Linked DNA regions of Homo sapiens: region 1 is linked to region 2. Evidence: promoter capture Hi-C in 16 types of primary human blood cells and fetal thymus (Javierre and others, 2016). All regions are on one chromosome and are shown on one strand. The core of a region is centred on a gene start or on the middle of the fragment in contact, and the rest is flanking DNA. Distances in the headings are between cores, read along the strand shown. Region 1 has its middle 4.8 kb from the start of KDM3A. Region 2 holds the start of POLR1A (RNA polymerase I subunit A).

Region 1 (6,880 bases), core at 611-3,110, 330 kb before region 2:
TCACAAGTTTTAAAAGACAGTTGGGAATAAAAGGACAATCCAGCTATAAATTGACCATAAGCAAATGCTTACAAAACAGGAAGCTTGAAAATACTGGGCTAAAATATTTAATCAAATGGTAGCCAAATGAAAGCAGTATAGCAATATTAATACAATTAAAAGTATCAAAAGAGAAAGGATTTTATATTAAAGATAAAGTCCATGAAGACAGTATGGTCTCCTGAACTGTTATGAATCTAAAAACATGGCCTATCCTAAGGTGACGCTATGAACGATGAGAAATTTTACAAATTTGACAATTTGTTTTCAGAGTAGAAGACATAAATATCTCAGAAATATGCAACTCAAATGTAAAATATAAGGGAAGATATGGAGAACTTAGATTATGTAATTAAATATTAATTTGAAAAACAACTCAAGGGAAAAATTCTATTGAACCTGAAGGAACATATACTTTCTATGTTGAATTCATTATTTCAGAGCTTAGAAAAGATGGAAAGATATCCAATGCATTTTATAAAAGTTATAAAACCGTTTCACAAATTCTGAACTGGGCGAGTATAAGAAAGAAAAACTATGGTTCAATTATACTTAGGAACATAGATGGGAAATTCTTTTATAAAATACCAGCAAATTAAATCCAGCAGCATTTTTTTTAGGTAATTGATATGATTAATTAGTGTTATATGAATGCAAAGATACTTCAAGATTAGAAAATTACTAAAATTCACCATGACAGGTTAAAAAAGAAAAATCGTATATTCACCTTAGGGCTAAATAGAGCATGCAGTCACATTGAACACTTGTGATCTTAAGAGTATTTTTAAATTACATAGAAAACTAAGAAGATTATAAGTGTACACTTATATTCAATACCACCCATAATTTTTAAAAAATGTTTTTAAACTTTCTAAAAACCTAGGAATATAAGTTACGTACCACAGAAAAACACCCACACACATATGAACGAAAAAACATCTGCAAATAACCTAAGTGTACTCCAGTTGGAGAAGGAATAAATAAAATTATTAACAATAAATGGAATGTAATGCATATATTGGAAAGTTGTAGAGGATTTGTAAAGGAGTCAAAGCAGCTAGATGTTCCAATAAAAATAGTTACCAAAATACATTATGAATGAAAAAGAAATTTGCATTTGGTACTATTTCAAAATACACATACAAAAACAACAGTATATATGTTCTGTTAAATATGGTTATTAAAACTTACAGTAATGGTTACTGGTATTAGGGGGTGCACACTAGAATTAGGGGTATTAGTCAAAGACAACACATATTATTTGTAATTCTAATTTTTTATAAATACACTTTTTTTGTATTTACATTTTTATCACCTTATTTTTAATTGACAGGTAAAACTATATGGTGTACAATATGATGTTTTGGTATAGATATACATTGTGGAATGGCTATATCAAATTATTTTACATATGCATTCCCTCACATACTCATCTTTTTTTGTGTGGTGAGAACACTTAAAATCCACTCTTAGCAATTTTCAAATATACAATATATTGTCATTAACTGTAGTCACCATGATGTACATTAGATCATTTGAACTTATTCCTCCTGTCTAACTGAAATTTTGTGTCCTTTGACCAACATCTACCCAATCTCCCCACTCCCTGTAATTCTCTCATTTTATAAGGTAAATGTACTCACATGTTACTTTTAAAATTTAATTTTTAACTCTCATTAATGGAATCTGCTACATTAACAAATTAAAGGAGAAAATACATATGATTATCTCAATAGATACACCAAAAATTTTATATACTTCATTTTCATTCATTATAAAAACTCTTAGCAAACTATCAAGAAAAGAAAATTTTATAACTCTATAAAGGATATCTACCAGAAATATACTTAAACATTGTACTTAATTGTGAAATTTTAGAAAAATTCCCAATAAAGTCAGGAGCAAGATAAGGATGCCCAATGCTGTCATTACTATTCAAGTTACAATAGAGGTTAATTGCTAATGTAATAAGACAAGAAAAATAATACAATGTAAACATTGGAATGGAAGAAAAAGCCCAAAACATTTGTAGATAAATCAAAAGCATCAGTGACAAATTATTAGAATTAAAACAAGAATCAAAAAGATAATGCAATAAAAGATCAACAAACGAAAATCAAAAGAATTCCTATTCCTTAGCAAGCATCAATTAGAACATACAGTAGAAAAATAAAAACCATTAATGATAATAAAACATGTAATCCCTAAAAATTAATACATGAAATGAACACAACCTATATGAAGAAAATTAGACTTTGCTGACATGTATAAAGAAGATGAAAAATTCTGTCTCTTGATATGATCTGATAAATATGTCATTTCTCCTCTAACAAAACAACAAATAAAAACATCAAGACATAAATATATAAGTAATGAAGAGAACAAAGAAACAGACCCAGTGTATATTAAAAATTAGTTTGTGATCGACATATTTCTAGTGGGTGTAAAGAATAAACTATGCAATACATGCTTTGAGGTCTATTGATTATCCATTAAAAATGTATATATAAGCCGGGCGCAGTGACTTATGCCTGTAATCCCAGCATTTTGGGAAGCTGAGGTGGCAGATCACTTCAGGTCAGGAGTTTGAGACCAGCCTGGCCAACATGGTGAGACCTCATCGCTACTGTAAAAATTAGCTGGCTGTTGTGGTGCACATCCACAATCCCAGCTACTCGGGAGGCTGAGACAGAAGAATCACTTGAACCTTAAACCCAGGAAGCAGAGGTTGCAGTGAGCTGAGATCACGCCACTGCACTCCAGCCTGGATGACGAAGCAAGACTCTGTCTCAAAAAAAAAAAGTATATAATGTATATATAACCAAGATTCCTACACCAACATTCACGAAAATAAGTTCCAGGTAGATCAAAATGCTACATATTTTAAAATCCAATAAAATATTTTAAAATTCCCTCCTCTCTTCTACTTTTTTCTCTTTCCTTTCCTCTTTCTAAACATTTCAGTCTTGAGGCCATTAGGAGGGGCAGAGCAAGATAGGTGTTAATAAGGAGAGGCTGTCAGCCATGGGATGTTAGAGCTCTAAAGAGTAAGGAGTAATAGCCGGGCATAGACAGTCAGAGCCCAAGTGGGGTGAGAAGGGTAGACACACAAAAGGTTAACCTAGCCTGGGTTATCTAGAGTCCAAGTGAGGTGAGGAGGGCATCCATGAATGGGGGCAGCCTAGTGTGGTATGTTGGAGCCCAAACAGAGTGAAGAGACTGTTTACATGAGAAGAAAGCCTGGCATGAGTAACAGAGCCTGAGGAGGGGGAGGAGAGTGTGTAGGAGAGTGATTTGACATGGATGTCAGACCCCAAGGAGGGTGAGGAGGGCATTCATGTAGGGACCAGCAGTGGGCACTGAAAAGACCAAGAGATCTCTTAGAAGCAGCAGGAGAACCAGGTGAGAGGTACATTCTGGAAGCAAGCCAAAAAGAGTTTCAACTTGGAAGACCATGCAGTAAGGTCAAAGGATACACTGAGGTGAAGACAGATGGAGGACTGAGCAGCAGGATATTGAAACTGCCAACAAATATATTTTAGCCACTGGGTATTGCCAGAAATAACTTCCACTGGTTAGTAAAAATTATCCAAGCTTCAGGGTATATATTCCAGTCAAATCCTGACACTAACTTGCTGTGTCAACCCTAGCTCCAGAGGACATCAGAAGTTCCCAAATGCCTTAAGAAAGTTGGCAACAGAAAATTTGGAATATGCTTGACCTTGATTTCTCAATTTCAAAACAATTAGAGCACAATATTTTTGCCTAAATCTGCTTCCCTGAAATAGCACAAGAATAACTCGTGTTTTATGTGAAAATCTAAATGTCTTATGCTATTTCTGTTAAGGCAAAGCACCTGTGACAATTAATGAAGTCATCCCAGAGTGTCAGCGCTAAGCTCCTTGCCTCTGGGTATTTTAAAGACTTTTTCTGTTGAGGAATAATTTATATCCAGAGAAAAGCATAGATCTTAAGTGAACATTTTTATCAGCTTATGAATTACATGCATCCAAATAACCTACACCCCATCAAGATATAGAACAGGGGTCAGCAAACTACAGCCACAGGCCAAATCTGTTCCACTGCCTAATTTTCTACAGCGTTTCAAGAGTGGTTTTTACATTTTTTAATATATGAGGGGGAAGCGAGAACAATGTTTTGTGACACATTAAAATTATATAAAATTCAAATTTTATATAATTGGTGAGAAATTATTATATTATTATTATATTCTTTGTGTCTACAAATAATATTGTTTTAATTTTTATTTTATTAATAATTTTTTTAAAAATAGAGATGGAGTCTCGCCATGTTGTCCAGGCTGCTCTCGAACTCCTGAGCTCAAGTGATCCACCTGCCTTGGCCTCCCAAAGTGCTGGGATTACAGGCCTGAGCCACTGCACTCAGCTATAAAGAATATTTTAATAGAACATAGCCATACCCATTTGTTTATGTTTTATCTATGGCTGATTTCACACTACAGTGATAAACTTAAGTAGTTATAACAGAGACTGTATGTCCTTGAAAGCCAAAAATAATAATACTTTTGCTCCTTATAGAAAAGATTTGCCAAAGTCTGAGACAGAATATTTCCATGACCTCTAAATATTCCCTCATGCTGGGAAGGAAGTACTCCTTCCCAGAGTAACTGTTGTTCCAGTTTCTATCATCATAAATTACCTTTGCCCGTTGTTTAATTTAAAGGCAGTAATACAGTATATACTCTTTTGTGTCTAGCTTCCTTTACTCAACATGTTTTTGAGAGTCATCCAGGTCATCACATCTATAGGAATTTTGTTCCTTTTCATTGCTGGGTAGTATCCCGATGTCTGAATATGCCACAGTTTGTATGTCCACGCTTTTTTTGTTTTGTTTTATTTTGAGACAGCATCTTGCTCTGTTGCCCAGGCTAGAGTACAGTGGCGTGATCTCAGCTCACTGCAATCTCTGCCTCCGCGGTTCAACCAATTCTCCTCCCTCAGCCTCAGCCTCCCAAGTAGCTGGGACTACAGGGGCGTGCCACCATGCCTGACTAGTTTTTGTAGTTTTTTAGTAGAGATGGGGTTTCACCATGTTGGCCAGGCTGGTCTCGTACTCCTAACCTCAGGTGATCCACCTGCCTCAGCCTCCCAAAGTGCCGGGATTACAGGTGTGAGCCACAGTGCCCAGCCAATATGTCCATGCTTTGTTGATGGATATCTGAACTGTTTTCAGTTCTTGGATACGATGAATATGTTTGGGTTTAAAAACACTTCTTAATGTTTTATTTGTTTTCCTTTTCTGCTCTTTATATTTTCCAACATTTTTACTCTTTCTGCATCTCTTCCTGAAAAACCAGACTTCCATCTGATATAATTTCCCTTCAGCCTAATCAGCCTTAAGAAATAGATTCATACCTTTTTCAGTAATTTAGATATCAATAAGGACAAATAAAGGGCATAATAAAATATTTGCTTACTGTGCATTTCTGCTCATTGGTAATACTAAGTCAAGAATTTGATATATATTCAACTCAGTTGCATTACATGTTTCTATGTATATGATTTGATTAACCAAAAAATGTATGCAATGTCAAGGTTTTTTCTTGTTTTGTTTTTTAAAATAAGAGCAGTTCAACAGCACTGGGAGTTGTTTAATACAATACAGAGAGCATAAGGAAAGAAGTACAAAATGTCATTTAGCAGCAATGGCAAAACATCTTACTATGTTTATAATTAAGGATATTATTAATGTTGTGTTGTTTATGTTGTTTTAGAACATACATGAAAGATATTCATTTGACTTTGAGGTATATATACAAGACATAACACAATTACATGAAAAATATTTTTCATAAGTAACATTATGTTTTAACATATTGGAAAGTGAATATCAATGTTGGTTTGTATTTTAACTTAATAGACAAAAAAAGAACACAATTGAACCAGGAAGAGTTAATACTGATAGTAAAGCTCTTAAATATGTCTTCCTTTACCTTTGTACTTACCACAGGCTATACAATGTTGTGAAAGGGTTCATTATGAAAAAAGTGTCAGTCACCACTTTGAGACCTTACTTTGGAAGAAACTAATGAGAAAGTCAATTGGAAGATGAGACTTCATCTTTGTTTTCAAATAAGTTGTCTTAATTTTTCTTCTTATGGAATAAGTTTAAATAAGTTTATTATACATAAATCTAAACTATTAATTTTTGCAGCTTTCAGGTAAAGTCTAGCTCTTATTTTACTCTAATGAACTTATTTTAGTATATCTTGAAGTTGAGACCTGCTGGAGATAAATTATTTCAGCTTTCATCTATTCAATAGGTTTTAATTTCACCTTCATTTTTTTTAGAGACAGGATCTTGCTATGTTGTCCAGGCTAGTCTCAAACTCCTGGCCTCAAGTGATCCTCCTACCTTGGCCTCCCAAAGCGTTGGGATTACAGGTGTTAGGCACTGCACCCAACCTCACCTTCATTTTTGATTTTTTGGATTTTTGTAGATTGATTTTATATCCTCCAACTTTACTGAATTTATCAGTTCTAAGAGTTTTTTGGTGGAGTCTTGATTTTTTTATGTATAAATCATGTTATCTGCACACAGGACAATTTGACTTCCTCTTTTCCAATTTGAATGCCCTTTCTTTCTCTTGCATAATTCCTCTGGGCTGGCCTACGGCTTCCAGTACTATGTTGAATACAAGTGGTGCAAGTGGGAATGTTTGTCTTGTTCTAGTTCTTAGAGAAAAAGCTTTCAACTTTTCTTCACTCAGTATGATGTAGGCTGTCAGTTTGTTATATGTGGCCTTTACTGTTTTGAGGTATGTTCCCTCCATACCTAAGTTTTTTATAGTTTTTATCAT
Region 2 (6,311 bases), core at 3,253-5,752:
ATAACATTCTTAAGACTATAAGTCATCTGAGAAAAACAAAAGTACAGGAAATTTTATATTTCATCAAAACTAATTCCCTGATGTACATAATATCCACTAAATTTTCTATCCACGTTTAGAAGTCACATTTATGTAATTTCAGCAAGTGTGATAACGACACATTCTCTCATCTGTCAGCATTCCTTCAGCAGATCTTTTATTGCCCTATTTAAGTCTTATCAAGTTAGCAAACTTTCCTAACATATTGAACAAATGGCAGTGAAAAAATGATGACATTCAGATTACTCACTAATTCTCTTTCTTTAAAGGGTTACTTTAAAAGGTATCATACATTATCTTAAAAAAATAAACTAGAACATTACACGTTAACCTAAAGTGTCTGGTGTCATCTTGTGACCCCTCTCCACGATGAATTTGGTATTTGTATTTCCAGAACTTTTAAAGGTATTTTCACACATAAACATCTCCCTAAAAAACGTATACACACTGTCATTCTGCATGTGTCTACATAAGTTTGGCTGCACTATCCATGTTATTAAATATAGAGCTAATTAATTCCTTTCAATGTAAAAAGTTATTGTATGATAACCTTTTAAAATTATCCATTCACTTTTCAATGGGCATTCAGGCTGTTTCAACCTGTTACTATTCCCAAGTAATAAAGAACAGTCTTGTCCATGTATATATGCAAATGTTCCTCCAAAGTGGCTAACCAGTAAGGTACGCACATTTCCAATTCTGATTCTGCCAAATTTCCCTCCAAAGAGCTGTTCCAATTTACTGTCCCATAAACAAACGTATTTCTTCAAATCCTCTCTCTGCCAATACGGTAAGTTTTAATTTGCACTTCTTTTATGATCCCAGTTACCTATGCATTGACATCACTGGGCTCCCTGGCCTCCCTAAAATAATCACACAGTTCAGATTAATAAAGTTCTTAAAAAAGTCTTTTTAAATGAACCCAAGTCTTTTTTTTTTTTTGAGATGGAGTCTTGCTCTGTCGCCCAGGCTGGAGTGCAGTGGCGCGACCTCGGCTCACTGCAAGCTCCGTCTCCCGGGTTCACGCCATTCTCCTGCCTCAGCCTCCCGAGTAGCTGGGACTACAGGCGACCCCCCACCACATCCGGCTAATTTTTTTGTATTTTTAGTAGAGACGGGGTTTCACCGTGTTAGCCAGGATGGTCTCAATCTCCTGACCTCATCATCCGCCCGCCTCGGCCTCCCAAAGTGCTGGGATTACAGGCGTAAGCCACCGCGCCTGGCGAACCCGAGTCTTTAGGTCACATAATTTTAAGACCTAGCTTTTTGAGGGGCCACTAAATGCGTTCAATAGGACTACACTGTAACAAGCACTTTTGTGAAGTTTTAATTCCTGCATATTCAACAAATGTTGAATAAATGAGATGAGGCAATTTGTTCAAGGATATATCCAGTGAATAAAAAAGCTAAATTTTGCTGTCCACACCATTTACTTTATTTTTACCTCATTAGAGATAATAAAGACAGTAACTGTCTGCTCTTGAATCATATGAGAGAACTTCCTTGAAAAAAATTATTCTAATGATGATGTTCATGTATAACCATGTATTATTAACCACGTAAATAGTAACCCACACTAATTCAAAATCTCTTTCAATTGTTCTTTTAAGTAAATCTCATTGCTCATTCACTCACTATTCTCCACCTTTCCATTTTTTGTCCTTTAAACTCCTAGCTTCTCCCCGCTCAGCTACTCTCTTCAAGAATGCTCTCCTATTGCTCTTCCTGTCACTGTCTCCTTACCTAACCCTTACACTTCTCTCATAGTAAGCACTCAACCATTTGCTGAATGAACACTGATAGAATACTTACCAAGTTTTCTTTTTTGGAATTACTACTTCTTCAATCCCTAATGTAAAAAAGAAAACATGAATCAGTTTCCTAGTACTACAATGGAATCCAACGTGTTGATATAAAAATAGAATTCAATATATTTTAAAATATACCTGTTACATCAGTTCCTTCAACCTTTGAGAGGGTTGCACTACCAGAATAAAATCTGCAAAAAAACAAAAGCCTTAAATCTAATAGTCATTAATGAAGTACCCAGCTCACCTCCACCTATGTGTACTTTGAGCCCAAATTCTCCAATTATCACGGATTAAACTGGATAACTCATGTCAATGAACGCTGAGAAGACAGTCTGTACACATGTTCAATATCATTAAGGAATGGATACAAGATATGGACAAGACTGTCAAAACTTTTTTTTTTTTTTTTTTAGAGACAGGGTCTTGCTCCATTGCCTAGCCTTTAGTGAAGTAGTGCAATTATAGCTCACTGAACCCTTGAACTCCTGGGCTCAAGTGACCCTCCTGCTTCAGCCTCCTGAGTAACTAGGACTACAGGCATATGCCACCATGCCCGGCTAGACAAAAGTTTTGGAAGCAAGCAATCTCATTACATAAATGGCAGAGAGGGAGGAAAGTTTTTAATAGCACTTGAACAATCTGGTTTGAAATGAAGAACTTTCAACTTCAGGAACCCAAAACACTATGATGTTTAAAAGAACAATTCAGTGAGCTCTTGCTTCTATACAGATACTGCCCTGATCAGAAAGGACTACCTCACTTAAAGCAATTACAACATAGGGAAGATGACCCATGGCTTCTCATTCCACTTCTTTCAACAATCAAGAATGTACCAAATACATAAGGCCTGATTTAGACTTGGAATTGCTGATATTTTCTATTTTCAGAGGTTCAATATGAAATCCTTTTTAAACCAAAATATAGAATCATTGGCCCATGACTGAGTTTTTAAGTGTTCTGTTTAAGTGTTCTGATCACACTAAAAACACAGTCAACACACCACAGATAATGTGACGGTTAGTATTATCTTGTGTTTCCCCTTACTAAATGGCATCAGTAACATTCAGAAAATTGTCAAGATGTGATTGCACAGACAGATACTTCCTCCAGTAGTATCTGGTTTCAGGTATCATTTAAAACAAGAATACCCCTCTACGTTAAGGACATTTCAGAAAGAGATCAACTCTTTCAAGTTTCTGAGATCAACTCTTTCAAGTCACACTATTTGTTTCTCATGACCTTAAAACAGAGATCACAGTTATTTTGAGAACGGATGCTGAGGAAGAGATTCTGCTTCAGGCAAAGAAAATGAGTAGAAAAATGCTAACGATGGCTACCAGGAAACGGAGGACTGGCATTGAATGGCAGCACAAAGGTTTCTGCAGTATCAGATGGAGTGGTTTCTCTTTCTTGAGGGGAACTAAGGGAGAGTACATATAAAAACATATTGTAAATTACATACCCCACTTATACCTCACAAACTTTTCGGATGGTTATTACCAACTCTAGTCTGCAGATGAGGAAATCTGTCTATTATCATCCAATTAAGTGAATGGCAAACACTAAACCTAAAATTAGGCTTTTAGCAAGTTTTCACTACAAATTACTGCCTCTCATATTCCCACAATGCCACTGTTTGTACTGAGTGAAAAAAAAATTACACAGATAGGTCATACATGTTCCAAGCTATAACTATCACAGATCAAAAGGGCATAGTCAGATCTTTTAGACTTTTCTGCTTTTACGAAAACCTGATAACTTCTTTAGCCAAAGTCCCCACGGTGGCGACCAGAGACTGCCTTTTATTTGGGAAGATCTTGTACGTTCTCCTCGCTCCTCCTGATTGGGTTAAAATGAGTAATGGCGGATAATTTTTAATTTGGGGTAGTGTTGCTAATAGCCACACTCACTGGAACGCAAGCTTCATGAGAGCAGGGTCCTAGCTTTGCGGATGGTGTTAACTACAGAATATTGCAAGCAACCAATAAGTATTTCTCTAATGAATAAATGCGTTGCGAATCCTATTTCAAAGGGCCACCTCCGCGTACCTGGTCTTAAGGGCACGCGACCGTTAAGGGCGCGCATGAGCAAACCATTTCATCGTGCCTACTTCCACAGCCAGCTGGGAAACATAGGACTAAGGTGACTCCGCGGTCTTCTTCGCGGATACCCTAAGCGTCTCTTACCTGCAGCTGCGTGCCTGTTCACACAAACCCGCCCGCCGACCCGTCAGCGGCTGGCCAAGCCTGCTGCGGAGGCCCAGCCAGCGAACAGCAGATACAACCGCCATCTTTGATTTCTCTGCAGAGCATGTTGGGAAAGCGTGCCTCGACCTTCAGGAAGGTGGGGCGCAGTGGGCGGGGAGCAGGGAACAGCTCCGCTATTGGCTGAAGCGGAAGAAGACGAAAGCAATCATAAAATGGGAGGTTGCAAGCTCATGGTTTGAAAGACTTCGTCACGGAAGCTAAAAGCTCTATACACCCGATTTGCCTCGGAGGAATTTTCCTAAATGATTATTTTGATGTCTTATATATCTTTGATTGTTTTCAAAACAAAAGAGCGAGCAGAGAGTCGTACAACTATTTGTTCCCCCCCCATGTAGAAGTGATCTCATCCACGTAAATGTCGTTCCTGCGACCGCTTCCGCGCGCAAGCGCACGTTGAATCGCGTGGTGACTCCGGGCTTGAGGTTGAATTAAGAATAGTCAGGTGGTGAGTGGAACGTCTCTTGGGGTGTCGGAATTCAAAACGGACCTGGAGGATGTTGATCTCCAAGAACATGCCCTGGCGGCGGCTGCAGGGCATTTCCTTCGGGATGTATTCGGCTGAAGAGCTCAAGTAAGGAGTTGGTCGGGTAGCGTGCCCAGCCTGGATCTTGAGGTCGGCGCCCTAAACTACGATTCCCAGAAGCGCTTTTGCCCAGTCTATCCTCTTGAGTCCAGGCTTGTCTGGCGCTTGTCCTGCTGGGAGCCGTAGTTCTGGGAACGTTCCTGGGCCGGCGTGGACTGCCTGGATAAGAGGCCGGTGGTGCTGGGGGAAAGAGTTTGCGCTGAGGTAGGGGAATATAAGGGTGGGGAGGGTCCTGGTCTGCAGCGTTATCATCTGCCAGTCTCCTCGTTAACTAACAAGCATTTGTGGAATTAACCATAGTGTACCTGACATGGTTAATTAGGCACGTAGTAAGTTTCCTCTTGTTTGTAAAATGATTGTCCTTCAAGTGTCAGTTCAGGCGTTAACTTCTCTTTGCTAGGACCCTGCTATATTCTCGGTCTGGTTGTTAAATCAAGGGAACTCTCTTTAGTCTTCATTTTGATCAAGGTAGCATTTGACATTCTCCAATGCACTCTCTTGAAACTTTCCTTTCTTCCAGAACCTTATTTGTCTTCAAGTTCTCCTATTTTTATGACAAATACTTCTACCTCCCTCTCTTCCTCTATCGATCTATAACCTCACAAACATTTATTGAGCATCCAGTTTTTTCCAGGCACCAAGCTAGGCGTTAATGACACATTGGTGAGCAAGGTCTGTACCTCATTTTACTCCTTAAATGTTGATGTTCTTCAAGATTCTATTCTAGTAATGTTTTCTTCATGGTAAATATTGTCCCTAGACAATCTCACCACTTTCATGATTTATAGTCTCAAATTTAAATCCCCAACGCAAATTTATTTCCCTGATTTTCAGACCCATTTGTTCAGCTGTCTGTACATCTTTAATTGAATTTCACACAGAGATCTTAAATGCATATCAAAAACTCAACATGGCCTAAATGCATATCAGAAACTCAACATGGCCGGGCACGGTGGCTCACGCCTGTAATCCCAGCACTTTGGGAGGCCGAGGCCGGCGGATCACGAGGTCGGGAGATCGAGACCATCCCTGGCCAACATGGTGAAACCCCGTCTCTACTAAAAATACAAAAATTAGCTGGGCGTGGTGGCGGGCACCTGTAGTCCCAGTTACTCGGGAGGCTGAGGCAGGAGAATCGCTTGAACCCAGGAGGCGGAGGTTGCAGTGAGCCGAGATTGTGCCACTGCACTCCAGCCTGGCGACAGAGCAATACTCTGTCTCAAAAAAAAAAAAAAAAAAACTCAACACGGCATCCCTCTTCAAAGGGAGGGGTTACTTACCCCTCCAAAATGGTGTACGTAGTGCAAAATAGTCACTAGAAACTGGAAAATTATTCTAGATCTCTCCTGACATATAACTTATTTATTGGGCTCTTACTTTGTGTCACCTACATGTCTATTTGTTCTTAGTCTCCTTTTTCTCCCAATTGCTACTGTGTTGCCTCTGGCCCTTATCTCATATTTGAATTGTCTTTTCCTTCCACCCTCCCCTTACACCTCTCAAGTGCATGCTCCACACTGCTGTCAAAATTATTCTTGCAAAGTGCAAATGTAGTCATGCTACTGTCACCCTTAAAACCCTCCAAATGTTCTCCATTTCCCTCAGATAAAG

Evidence for each region. Contacts are between HindIII fragments. The CHiCAGO score rates a contact against its expected background, and 5 or more counts as called.
Region 1: a contact is called between a fragment that was not itself captured here and the fragment with the promoter of POLR1A in region 2, in 1 of 17 cell types (fetal thymus). The highest score is 8.6, in fetal thymus.

What each region holds. Positions count from the first base shown.
Region 1 is chr2:86,433,109-86,439,988 of GRCh38, reverse strand. It overlaps a transcript of KDM3A not described here. Among named protein-coding and RNA genes, the nearest start is that of KDM3A, 4.8 kb to the left of the region's middle. The HindIII fragment of the contact is 3,550 bases long and covers 86-3,635 here.
Region 2 is chr2:86,104,077-86,110,387 of GRCh38, reverse strand. POLR1A (RNA polymerase I subunit A) reads left to right here and starts at 4,502. Exons shown (of 34, transcript NM_015425.6): 1 at 4,502-4,688. The coding sequence starts at 4,612. PTCD3 (pentatricopeptide repeat domain 3) reads right to left here and starts at 4,153. Exons shown (of 24, transcript NM_017952.6): 1 at 4,037-4,153; 2 at 1,986-2,038; 3 at 1,852-1,888. The coding sequence starts at 4,140. RefSeq lists enhancers at 3,843-4,102, 4,483-4,692, 4,893-4,982. The HindIII fragment of the contact is 4,349 bases long and covers 3,774-6,311 here.